3 separate regions of the Homo sapiens genome follow, and regions 1 and 2 are each linked to region 3. Evidence: promoter capture Hi-C in 16 types of primary human blood cells and fetal thymus (Javierre and others, 2016). All regions are on one chromosome and are shown on one strand. Each heading gives the region's core, a stretch centred on a gene start or on the middle of the fragment in contact. The rest is flanking DNA. Distances are from core to core; before and after follow the strand shown. Region 1 overlaps GPSM2 (G protein signaling modulator 2). Region 2 has its middle 2.5 kb from the start of EEIG2. Region 3 holds the start of FNDC7 (fibronectin type III domain containing 7).

Region 1 (3,260 bases), core at 24-2,523, 190 kb before region 3:
TCCTGGCTGGCAACAATTAGTTGGAGTTGGGTAGCAGTTGCCCCCTTCACACTGGACATTATCTCTAAGTTCACCACAATTCCCACACTTATGTAGTTAGGAAAACTTTTTTTTTTTTTTTTTTGAGATGCAGTCTTGCTCTGTCGCCAGGCTGGAGCGCAGTGGCGTGATCTCAGCTCACTGCAACCTCCACCTCCTGGGTTCAAGCGATTCTCCTGCCTCAGCCTCCTGAGTAGCTGGGATTACAAGCGTGCGCCACCACACCCGGCTAATTTTTGTATTTTTAGTAGATACGGGGTTTCACCAGGAAGACTTCTGAAGAGGTAATTGAGTTTGGGACCTAGTCATTGATCTTGGGTCAAGGGCATATGGAACCAGACTAATCCTCTATCACAGACTAGCCCTTCATACAATGATATACAGAGGATATCACTGAAAGAAAATTCCTTAAAAGGGATTTTAAGGAAAACAAAGGAAAAGAAACAAAGGAAAAATTCTAGGGATTCAATAATGCATCTATATTTTACCTTAGTTATGGTAAAAAGACGTAAAACATACCTATCATTCAGCTCTTGAGCAATTGCTAAGTGCTTCAGATGATAATCAATGGCCTTTTCATAGTCTTGAAGTAAAGTATATGTATTTCCAAGACTGTAACAAGACTGTGCTTCTACAGCTCGGTCTTTAAGCTGTCGGGCCAACAGTAGTGTCTTCCTACAAGAAGAAATTAATTCTTATATAATGATCATTCTCAGTTTGGGCTTTAAGAATCACAAAACAAAACTCTCATTTTTCCTCTCTGCTGCTTTCTGCTGTCTTTAAATCTCTGAGAGCCTAATATTCATATCCCGTACTTTCTCCATTACTTTTAGACAAAATGAAAAGACGTTTTTGAAACACAGAAAGAAGATTCAAGACTTTTAGAATAAATTTGAGAATCCTAACAATTCATCAAAGTAAAGGAGTATTGAAACATAAAATCAAGAGGTTCTAGAGATTAACATAATATCTTTAACATTTAAAAAAACTTTCCCTTTAGTATTGGCAATAGCTAAAAGAGGCTTTTTTCCACATGACATCTGTTTTCAATCATACCGTCACCTTTGCATTGTCAAAATTTAAAATATTTAGGTAAAATTCTTATGTGTAGGCTATTAGTCACCACTTAGGTAAAATTCTTATGTATCGGGCATTAGTCACCAACTCATGAAAAATACTGAATACTACATCCAAACATTACCCAAATTCTACCTGTGGTATTGCCAGTGAGAAGCTAGCGTAGCAGTTAAGAGCATAGATCTTGGAGCTAGACTGGGTTTAAATCCCAACTTTGCCAATTACTAAGCTAAGGGCAAAGTCACTCAATCTCTCTGTATACCAGTCTCTTCTTATATAAAATGGGGGAAATATCTCGAAGGATTTTTGTGAGGATTAAATTAATATGTATAAAGTGCTTAGAATAGCATCTTGTGCATAGTAGTTGCTGTATAAATGTTAATGTGTTATTATCAGTGCTTAAACCTATAGATGCTTTTGGATTCAGTAATTTAAATGACCCTCCCATTATTTCTGTCAAATAGTATAATTACTTCATATCACTTATAACTATATGACAAATTACTATGCGGTAACGTGATAGCTTTTTTTAAGCAAACAAATCTAAAGTTACATATTTAATGATGATACCTTCAAATCTGTCACCTTGGGAGGCTACCTACTTATTCTAATGTTGCCTGTCTTTTCAAATATTTTTGAAAGACTTTTGGAATTGCTTTCAGATCCTGTGGCATAATGCTTTCTGGCATACCATTATTCTTTGATGGTACAGTTGATTTGTAAATGATCAGAAATCTTTCTGGAACCAAATTCAATTACTAACATAGGTTTACCAAACTACTGCTTTGTATCCGGAAGGATATGGATCTACATTGTTAGCCTTCTTGTTTGGCCCTGATAACAATTCCAGGCTGGGTGTGGTGGTTCACGCCTGTAATCCCAGCACTTTGGGAGGCTGAGGTGGGCGGATCACTTGAGGTCAGGAGTCCCAGACTAGCCTGGCCAACATGGCGAAACCCCGTCTCTACTAAAAATACAAAAATTAGCTGGGCGTGGTGGCAGACACCTGTAATCCCAGCTGCTCAGAAGCTGAGGCAGGAGAATCGCTTGAACCGGGGAGGCCGAGGTTGCAGTGCACCAAGATTGTGCCATTGCACTCCAGCCTGGGCGACAAGAGCAAAACTCCGTATTTAAAAAAAAAAAAAAAAAAAAAATCTAAAGAAGAGTTCTAAAAATATTTCTAACCAACGACTTGGAATATATATAAAGTTCTGAGTTCTAGCCTGCTTATTGGGAGGAAAAAAACTAAGTTTCATTACTTTATATTCATGCTTCTTTAGTCAAATAGCCACTATCCATTTTATAATAGAACCTTTCAGTATTTAACACAGATACACCATTTAATAATTAAGACTTCTCTATATCCCTTGGCTTTAAATATAGGAAATTTTTATATTTAAAATCAAAATATATACTCCTTCACATAGTACACAGTGATATATTTTATTTGGGAGGCTATTTCATATCTAACTAACCTAACCAACAAATATTAACCATTAGTTGATGTTTAAAGCAAAGTGGAATGCTATTTAATTTTTTTAGATAGGCCTAAAACAATTTTACCTTTTTTATGAAGATGACAAATTATCCAGAACTGTCTCATATTGGCTTCTTTAACAAAATACAAATCAATCACTGTGTCTTCGGTTTAGTCAAACTGCCTTCTACCCAAAATCTGTAAGAGGCTTCAATCCCCACTAACTAGGGAAAACTCAATCTAGAAAGCACAGATCAGGCAACTTGAAGCTGTCTAAACTTTCTATCATCTATGTCTCAAATCTACTGATAAGAGAGATCCTGCCACAGAAGAAGCTGGGATTGTAAATGCTTCAGGTAAGTGAATGGGGGACTCAGCTTACAGTGACAGTCAAATATAGGCAGAAAGAGGGTAAAGGGAGAACTGCTCAATAAGAGGGTGGGAAGGTAGAGAAAAAAATTCAGTGATCACTGGTATAGACTATAAATATTTTTGTTACAAGGCTTTCTTTTGGCCTCTCTTCTAACCCATAACTGAGTGAAATAAAGCATATACACAATATACACCACATATGCTAAACAGGTTTAAAAGATATTAAAGGTTGAAAACTTCATTTAAAAACAATTACTTTTAAAGATAAAAACCAATATTATAAAGGGGTCATACT
Region 2 (3,603 bases), core at 1,033-3,532, 160 kb after region 3:
GTCTGGCATGGCTACGCTGTAATCCCAGCTACTCGGGAGGCTGAGGAGGGAGGTTAGCCTGAGCCGGGGAAGCGGAGCTTGCAATGATCGGAGATCGCGCCACTGCACTCTAGCCTGGGCAACAGAACAAGCCCCTGTCTTAAAAACAAAACAAAATCTTCAGAGCAGGCTTAAAAAAAAATCTCCCTAGGGGAATAACAATTACCTGCCTTCTGTAATCATGCATGTATTGTTACAATGAATGTTACAAAGTTGGTTACGTGATGTTCATGTTTTTAAACTGAGTTATTGTCATTTTCACTCAGATTCTGCCACAGTAATTCTGAAAGGGTTTAATTGAAAATATTTTCTTTCTCAGTTTACTCGTTTACTCATTCATTCATATAAAAAAATTGCTTAAAATGTCAATCATCGGCTAGACCCCATAACCAAAAGCCAATAACTGCCCTCAAGAATTTTACAATCTAGTGAGGAAGACATGTTTAGACAGGTCATTAAAAAAACACAACCTAGCACCAAGCTATGTAGAACTCAGAGAAGCAATTAATTGAAGTTAATCAGTTTTCTGAATTTCAAAGGATGAAAATGATTTGGGACAAAGTGGGGTAAGTTGTTCTAGGAGAAATAAATTAAAAAAAAAAAAAGATTCAGAGGCAGGTTCGGGGGTGGGGATTTGGTAATGGATAAAGCTTCTTACCCTGCAGGACAGGGGGCAAAGACAGTGAGATGCATTTGGGGACTTTGAGATTTGTCATTTAGAGCACTGGATGAATGTTAATTTCATTGACTGAACATTGAAAGCAAGAGGAGGGCAGGTTGGGAATGGAAGAGATAATGAGTCTTTATGGGATCTGCTTGCAGTACATCTAGGGAGAGAGAGGCAGCCTTAGCTCATAAAAATGCATTGGCAATTGAAAATATACATTTGGGAATTGAGGTAATCGCTGATGGCTGAAGCCCAAAAGGTGGATAAGGATGAGTTACTCTGAAGAATATTTAAAGGGTAGGCAAAGAGGAGATCGTGAAGGTGCCTAAGAACAAGCAGTCAAGAGAAAAAGGAGATGAAGAAAGAGATGGCCTGGAAGCCCAGACGGTTTTAATCATGTAACATTCGTAGTTACAAAGTTCTATTGTGTGCCAGGCACTATGCTGGGTACTAGAGATGCAAATGAATAAGACATAGGGGCTTATAAAGGAATGGAGAAAAACAGAGATATGCAAACAGATCAACTAAAGTGTGTGTGTGTGGTATGTGAGTATGTGTGTGTGAGAGAGAGAAGAGAGAGAGAAAGAAAGAGAGAGAGCAATCTGTGATCCATGTAGGACAGAGGACCATTTCAAGAGAGTGCTGCAGAGCAGTCCCAGAGGATTTGGACTGAAAAGAAGCTACTGAATTGAAGGTCTAGGAGGTCATTGGTAATCTTGGCAAGAGAAGTCATCATAAAAGATAGTGACAAAGTAAGATGAAAAGTGACAAAGTAAGTGAAAAGATGACAGTGAAAAGTAAGATAGTGACAAAGTAATGTGGGTAAATAAAAATTATATTTTTATTGATGTTTTTCTGATTTTTTTGTCAGCGAATGAAAAGAGAGAGAGAATGGTGACCAGAGGAGGACAGTTCAATCTTTTTCAATAACATTCAGGAACTATCCAATATTTATTGAGTGTCTATTAGGTGCCAAGCACCTTAATAGGTCCTATGGATTTGAAATGCCGTCCCTGTCTTAGATCTCACGGTCTACTGGAGGACACAGAGAAGTAAGCAGGCAGTTGCAGTACAATGTAACACTGAGTGCTGTCTGTGTATGATGGTGAGTGGAGACTGCTGTGGGAGACTATAAAAGCTAACAGGGATAAGTAGTAGGTTTATGGAATGCCTTCTAGGGTAAGTGAAGCCTGAATTCAGGCCTTTAAGCTGAGGCCTGAATAATGAGCATGGGTGGGGAGCAGTTTCCAGGAAGGAGGTAGTGTCTGTGCAGAGGCTCAAAGGAAGAGAGACCATGTTGCAGAGGGAACTGAAATTAGTTCTGTCTGGCTGCAACTTAGAGTTGGGTACAGTGACAGGGGTTAACAAAGAGCCATTGAAGTTTTAAAGAAGAAGCATGATATATTCAGATTTACATTTTGTAAAGCTCTTCTACTTTATAAAATGGAAGATAGGAGACAGTCTGTTACTGTTTTTTAGACTCATGGTTTGATTATTAAACCCCTGATAGGAGTCATAGTCAAGGCAGGAAACAGATATCATATTCAATGTGTTTAAATGGGGAAAATTTAATGAAAGGACTCTTCACAGAGTTGACAGGGTAAGGGACCCACAGTCTGGTGAGAAGTTGAAAGGAAGAAGGGATAAATATCCTGATTTCTCTCACCTCCTACTTTCTGATCTCTTGGTGGTGCTTCCCATGATCCAAAACCAACCAAGGCCAGAGGGTAGAGGGGCTCGGAACATGCAGTTCATACAGGACAGACTCCTGGGGCACAAAGTAGGGCACTGAAAGGTAGAGAATGGTTGGAGGTAAGGGGATGGAAAGCCACTAGCACACAAAGGATACAGTCAGGGTTCACCATAGGAAGCTGAAACCACTCTGGATGTTTCAAAAAAAAAAAAAAAAAGGGATTTCATTCAGGCACTTCACTGCTTCTGAAATCTGTGGAAGGGCTGAAGGGGTTGAGGTCAGCAGACTGTCGAATTCAAAGTCACATGCTTTGTGGTAAACATTACTAGTGTTCACTAGTATCCGGTCCTCCTTGATTTCTGAGCATATGGGAGTTTACAGTTCCCAATTCCCTTGCGGTTAGTGGGGCCTTGTGATGAGGTCTAGCCAATAAAATGTGAGAAGTAACACGTCACTTCCAGGATGAAACAGTGAAAAGCCTTTGAGCAGTTCTCTAGACTACCTCTTCCCTGCCACAATAGTTATAGAGGAGACCTTGGGTTAAGATGTAGCAGCCACAAGATTGAAGCAGCCCAGATTTCTTAAGTCAGCACATGGAGAGCAACTGCCCACACCTGCAGGAAACATTTTGTCTGTGAGAAAGCAACTTTTATTATATGAAGCCACTGAGATTTTGGGGGATGCTTGTCACTACAGCATAAGTCTAGTTTATTCTGACTAACATACACTGCAGCTGGGATGGGAAGCTGACACTAGAACACTGCTACTGCTGCTGCCACCACCACTGGCTCACACCTGTCAAGACTATGAGGAGTCTGAATGCCACAGGCATGTCATCACACCTTGCTTGCAAGTGACACAGCAGTAAGAAGAGAGCCTCCATTTCACTTGCACCTGTGTTTTCATAAGGAAATTTATTTGGCAGGCCTTATTTGCACCCAAAAATTGAGTGGCAAAGGAGTCTGAGAAATGTAATTTTCAGCTTTCCAACTTCTTCAGATAGGATGGTGGAATGAATGTTGAGGCTAAGTATCTACTCCAGTACTTATAATTCAAGTTTCTTAAAGGCAGGGATGGTTTGCTGATCATCTTTGTATCTTTTCTAAATAGCCCAGTACCTAGTGGGTATTCAATACATGTTTCTTGAAATGACCTGAATTTATAGACCTATCCTAAGTGTGTTAACTCTCAGGTAAAACAACAG
Region 3 (3,200 bases), core at 24-2,523:
GATAAGTTAACCCTCCTAAAAATAAATTTCCATTCCAGGTACTTAGATTTCTAGCACAAATGAGCTAGGAGGGGCCTCTAGATAAATTATTTTTGCCTTCGGTTATCTACTCAAGAAAGATGGAGATCAACTATTTTTAAAAGAGGGTCCCCTTTCAGCCCTGAGTGACTATTGTCTATATTTCAAATATGCAATATTAGAAGTATAAAGTTCTTTTTAAAGTAGGGAATATTGACAATTTAATCAAATATAACATTTCTCATTTTCCCTCTAATTCCCCGGAAGATAAACAAGAACATTTGTATAAATTAGACTCTGTACAATATCTTAACTGGAATGATGATCATTGTAATATTTCACACATGGCTAACCGTATATGAGAAAATGCATGCCTACATGGCTCTGTACATTATAGTCCTCAGCAAGAACACTTTATGAAGATTTGTCTTTCGAGTTCAATCCATTTATTTGTCTTACCAGTTATTGTCTCCCCAGGACCCAATAGAGTGCTTAGCACCCAGTGTGAGTGCTCAGAAAATATTGAATTTTTTTTTCTCATATAGCCTTTAGATTTCAGGGTAGCCCGTGAATTAACAATGGAAATTAAAATCAAATACGAGAAGGAAAAACTTGCAGGTCAGAAAATTGTACCTGATTTTGCTGAAGCAACCTGAAAAGGAAAGTTTGGAAAATTAGAACCACACAGAAAAACACAACTTGAACAAACGTAAAACATGAATAAAAGCGGTAATAAATTAATCACAACATTTTTACATCTAACGTGAGCAGTCTTTCAATCCATACAAGTATTTCTCCACACAAATCATTTCCCAGCACCCAAATCTACCACAAAACAACTCTAAATAGAATTTAGAGGCTGGAGGCAGATCCCATTACTATTTCATTTTTTTCCCCTTTGAATCTGCCTATTGAACTAAGTCAGTAGCTGCTGACAGATTTTTCAGAAATCTTTGTTCTTAAAATATAATGATAATCTTGTTTTCTTTCTCTAGTATATGGCATTAAATTTCAAACACGCAAACATATACAACCTCGGTACAAACCAAAGTATTCTGATTTCTATCTCCCTATTCCCCAACTCCTCAAAAAAAAAAGGAGAGAAAAATAATGTGTCTTTCTTTTTTCCCCTAAATAGTTGTGGGTAGTTGGAATGATGAACTCACCATTTTAAGACAGATAAGAATGAATCCAATCAAAGGCAAACATGTCTCTCGTCCACCAGCCATCCTGTTGGACATAGTACTCACATGGCACAAAACAAAGCAATCCGGGTCCTCTTTGGCCCCCAGGAGTATAACACCGTTGGTCGCTGGGATGTAGGGCTGTGATGCTGGGAAGAGACCCTAGGAAGTAGCTCCTCCCCTTCAGTGTGGAGCTGACCTGTAACCAGGGGCACTTGGAGACCGGCAGGGACAGGTATTGCAAAGACTGAAAAGAAGAAGAGAGTTGGAGAAAGCCACGGCAAGCGGGCCAAAAAGCTACTGTAACCTTGGTTTCAAAGCAACCTTCTTTTTAAAACAATTTCTGTCTAAATAAAAATTTTAGAAAGCTGCACAGAAAGTTGTTGATGTGGTAGAATAATTATTTTGAACTCGGGGATGCTGACCAGTTTTATTTTTCTTTTTCACCTTTATTTGTTGTTGTTCTTTTAGTTCAAAGTAAGTGATTGGTCCTACTGTCAGGAAGAATTTGTTGCAAAACTTCAACATGGAATATGAAAGGGCAGGAGCATGTCCCTGTACTGAGAAAGATAGTGAGAGGTCCCTGGTGAGCACATTAAATTTATCCATCCCCCGTACCACCCTGCAGTTCCAGTACCTTTTTTTTTTTTTCATTTTTTTAGAGACAGGGTCTTGCTATTTTGCCAAGCAGCCTCCAACTCCTGGGCTCAAGCAATCCTCCCACCTCTGCCTCCTGAGTAGCTGAGACTACAGGCATGCACCACTGCGCCTGGCTAGTTCCTTTTATTTCCGGAGCTGTCTTCCTAGTTCACACTCTTAATAATAATTAGCATTTAATTTAAGAATTACAATGTATAATTTTAACAATGAACAGATACATAAATGAATAATAAACATAATTAATTGGCTTATCTGAAATCACACAAGAATTAAATGATCAAACTAGAGTTAAAACGCATCAGTCTGATTTCTACTTTCAACCAAGATAGGATTACAAAAAAGGGAAAAGAACTGCATTTACCGTCCCTGACTTTAAGATTTACCATAAAGCTAAAATAAAATAGAGACCGGGTGGTATTGGCATGAAGATAGATAAATAGATCAATGGGACAGAGAGTCCAAAAATAAACCCACGCATATATAGATAATTGATTTTCAACAAAGATACAAGGCAATCCAAAGGAGAAAGAATAGACTTTTCAACAGATGGTGCTGGAACAACTGGATAACCATATGCAGAAAACATAAACTTTGGTTCATACCTCACACCACATTAAAAAATGAACTCAAAATGGATCATAGATCTAAATGTAGCACCTGAAACTATAAAATGTCCAGAAAAAAAAACACAAGAGAATATCTTTGTGACTTTGGGTTAGGCAAAGATTTCTTATATACAACACTAAAAGTATAATCCATTTTTAAAATTTGATAAATTTGACTTCATTAAAATGAAGAATATCTGCACTATTAAGGGAATGAAAAGATAAGCCACAGACTGCGGGAAAATATATATCTTATAAAGGACTTGTATTCTGTGTGTGTGTATTCTCAAAACCCAGTAATAGGAAAACAACTCAATACAAAATGGGCAAAAGATATGAACAAACACTTTACAAAAGAAGACATACTCGTGGAAAATAAAGGCATGGAAAAAATCCTCAGCATCACTAGTCATTAGCAGAATGCAGAAAAGGTTTTTTTTTTTTTTTTTGGAGACGGGGTCTCATTCTGTCATCCAACCTGGAATGTAGTGGCGCAATCACACCTCACTGCAGTCTTGACCTCCCAGGCTCTAATGATCCTCCCACTTCAGCCTCCTGAGTAGCTGGGACCACAGGTGTGCAGCACTACACCTGGCTAATTTTTGTATTATTTGTAGAGATGGGGTTTCACCATGTTGCCCAGGCTGGTCTCAAACTCCTGGGCTCAAGCCATCTGCCCACCTTGGCCTCCCAAAGTGCTGGGATTATAAGCGTGAGCCATTGCGCTGGGCCC

What was found. The method cuts DNA at HindIII sites, captures the fragments that hold promoters and counts their contacts. A CHiCAGO score of 5 or more calls a contact.
Region 1: a fragment that was not itself captured here is called in contact with the fragment with the promoter of FNDC7 in region 3 in 1 of 17 cell types (naive CD4 T cells); the score reaches 5.2 in naive CD4 T cells.
Region 2: a contact is called between a fragment that was not itself captured here and the fragment with the promoter of FNDC7 in region 3, in 1 of 17 cell types (activated CD4 T cells). The highest score is 5.6, in activated CD4 T cells.

The regions. Positions count from the first base shown.
Region 1 is chr1:108,899,244-108,902,503 of GRCh38, reverse strand. It overlaps GPSM2 (G protein signaling modulator 2), which reads right to left. Exons shown (of 15, transcript NM_013296.5): 8 at 559-714. Among named protein-coding and RNA genes, the nearest start is that of GPSM2, 24 kb to the right of the region's middle. The HindIII fragment of the contact is 5,386 bases long and covers 1-3,260 here.
Region 2 is chr1:108,555,841-108,559,443 of GRCh38, reverse strand. No RefSeq gene overlaps it. Among named protein-coding and RNA genes, the nearest start is that of EEIG2, 2.5 kb to the left of the region's middle. The HindIII fragment of the contact is 3,181 bases long and covers 692-3,603 here.
Region 3 is chr1:108,710,981-108,714,180 of GRCh38, reverse strand. It overlaps FNDC7 (fibronectin type III domain containing 7), which reads right to left and starts at 1,273. Exons shown (of 13, transcript NM_001144937.3): 1 at 1,185-1,273; 2 at 652-670. The coding sequence starts at 1,247. The HindIII fragment of the contact is 11,369 bases long and covers 1-3,200 here.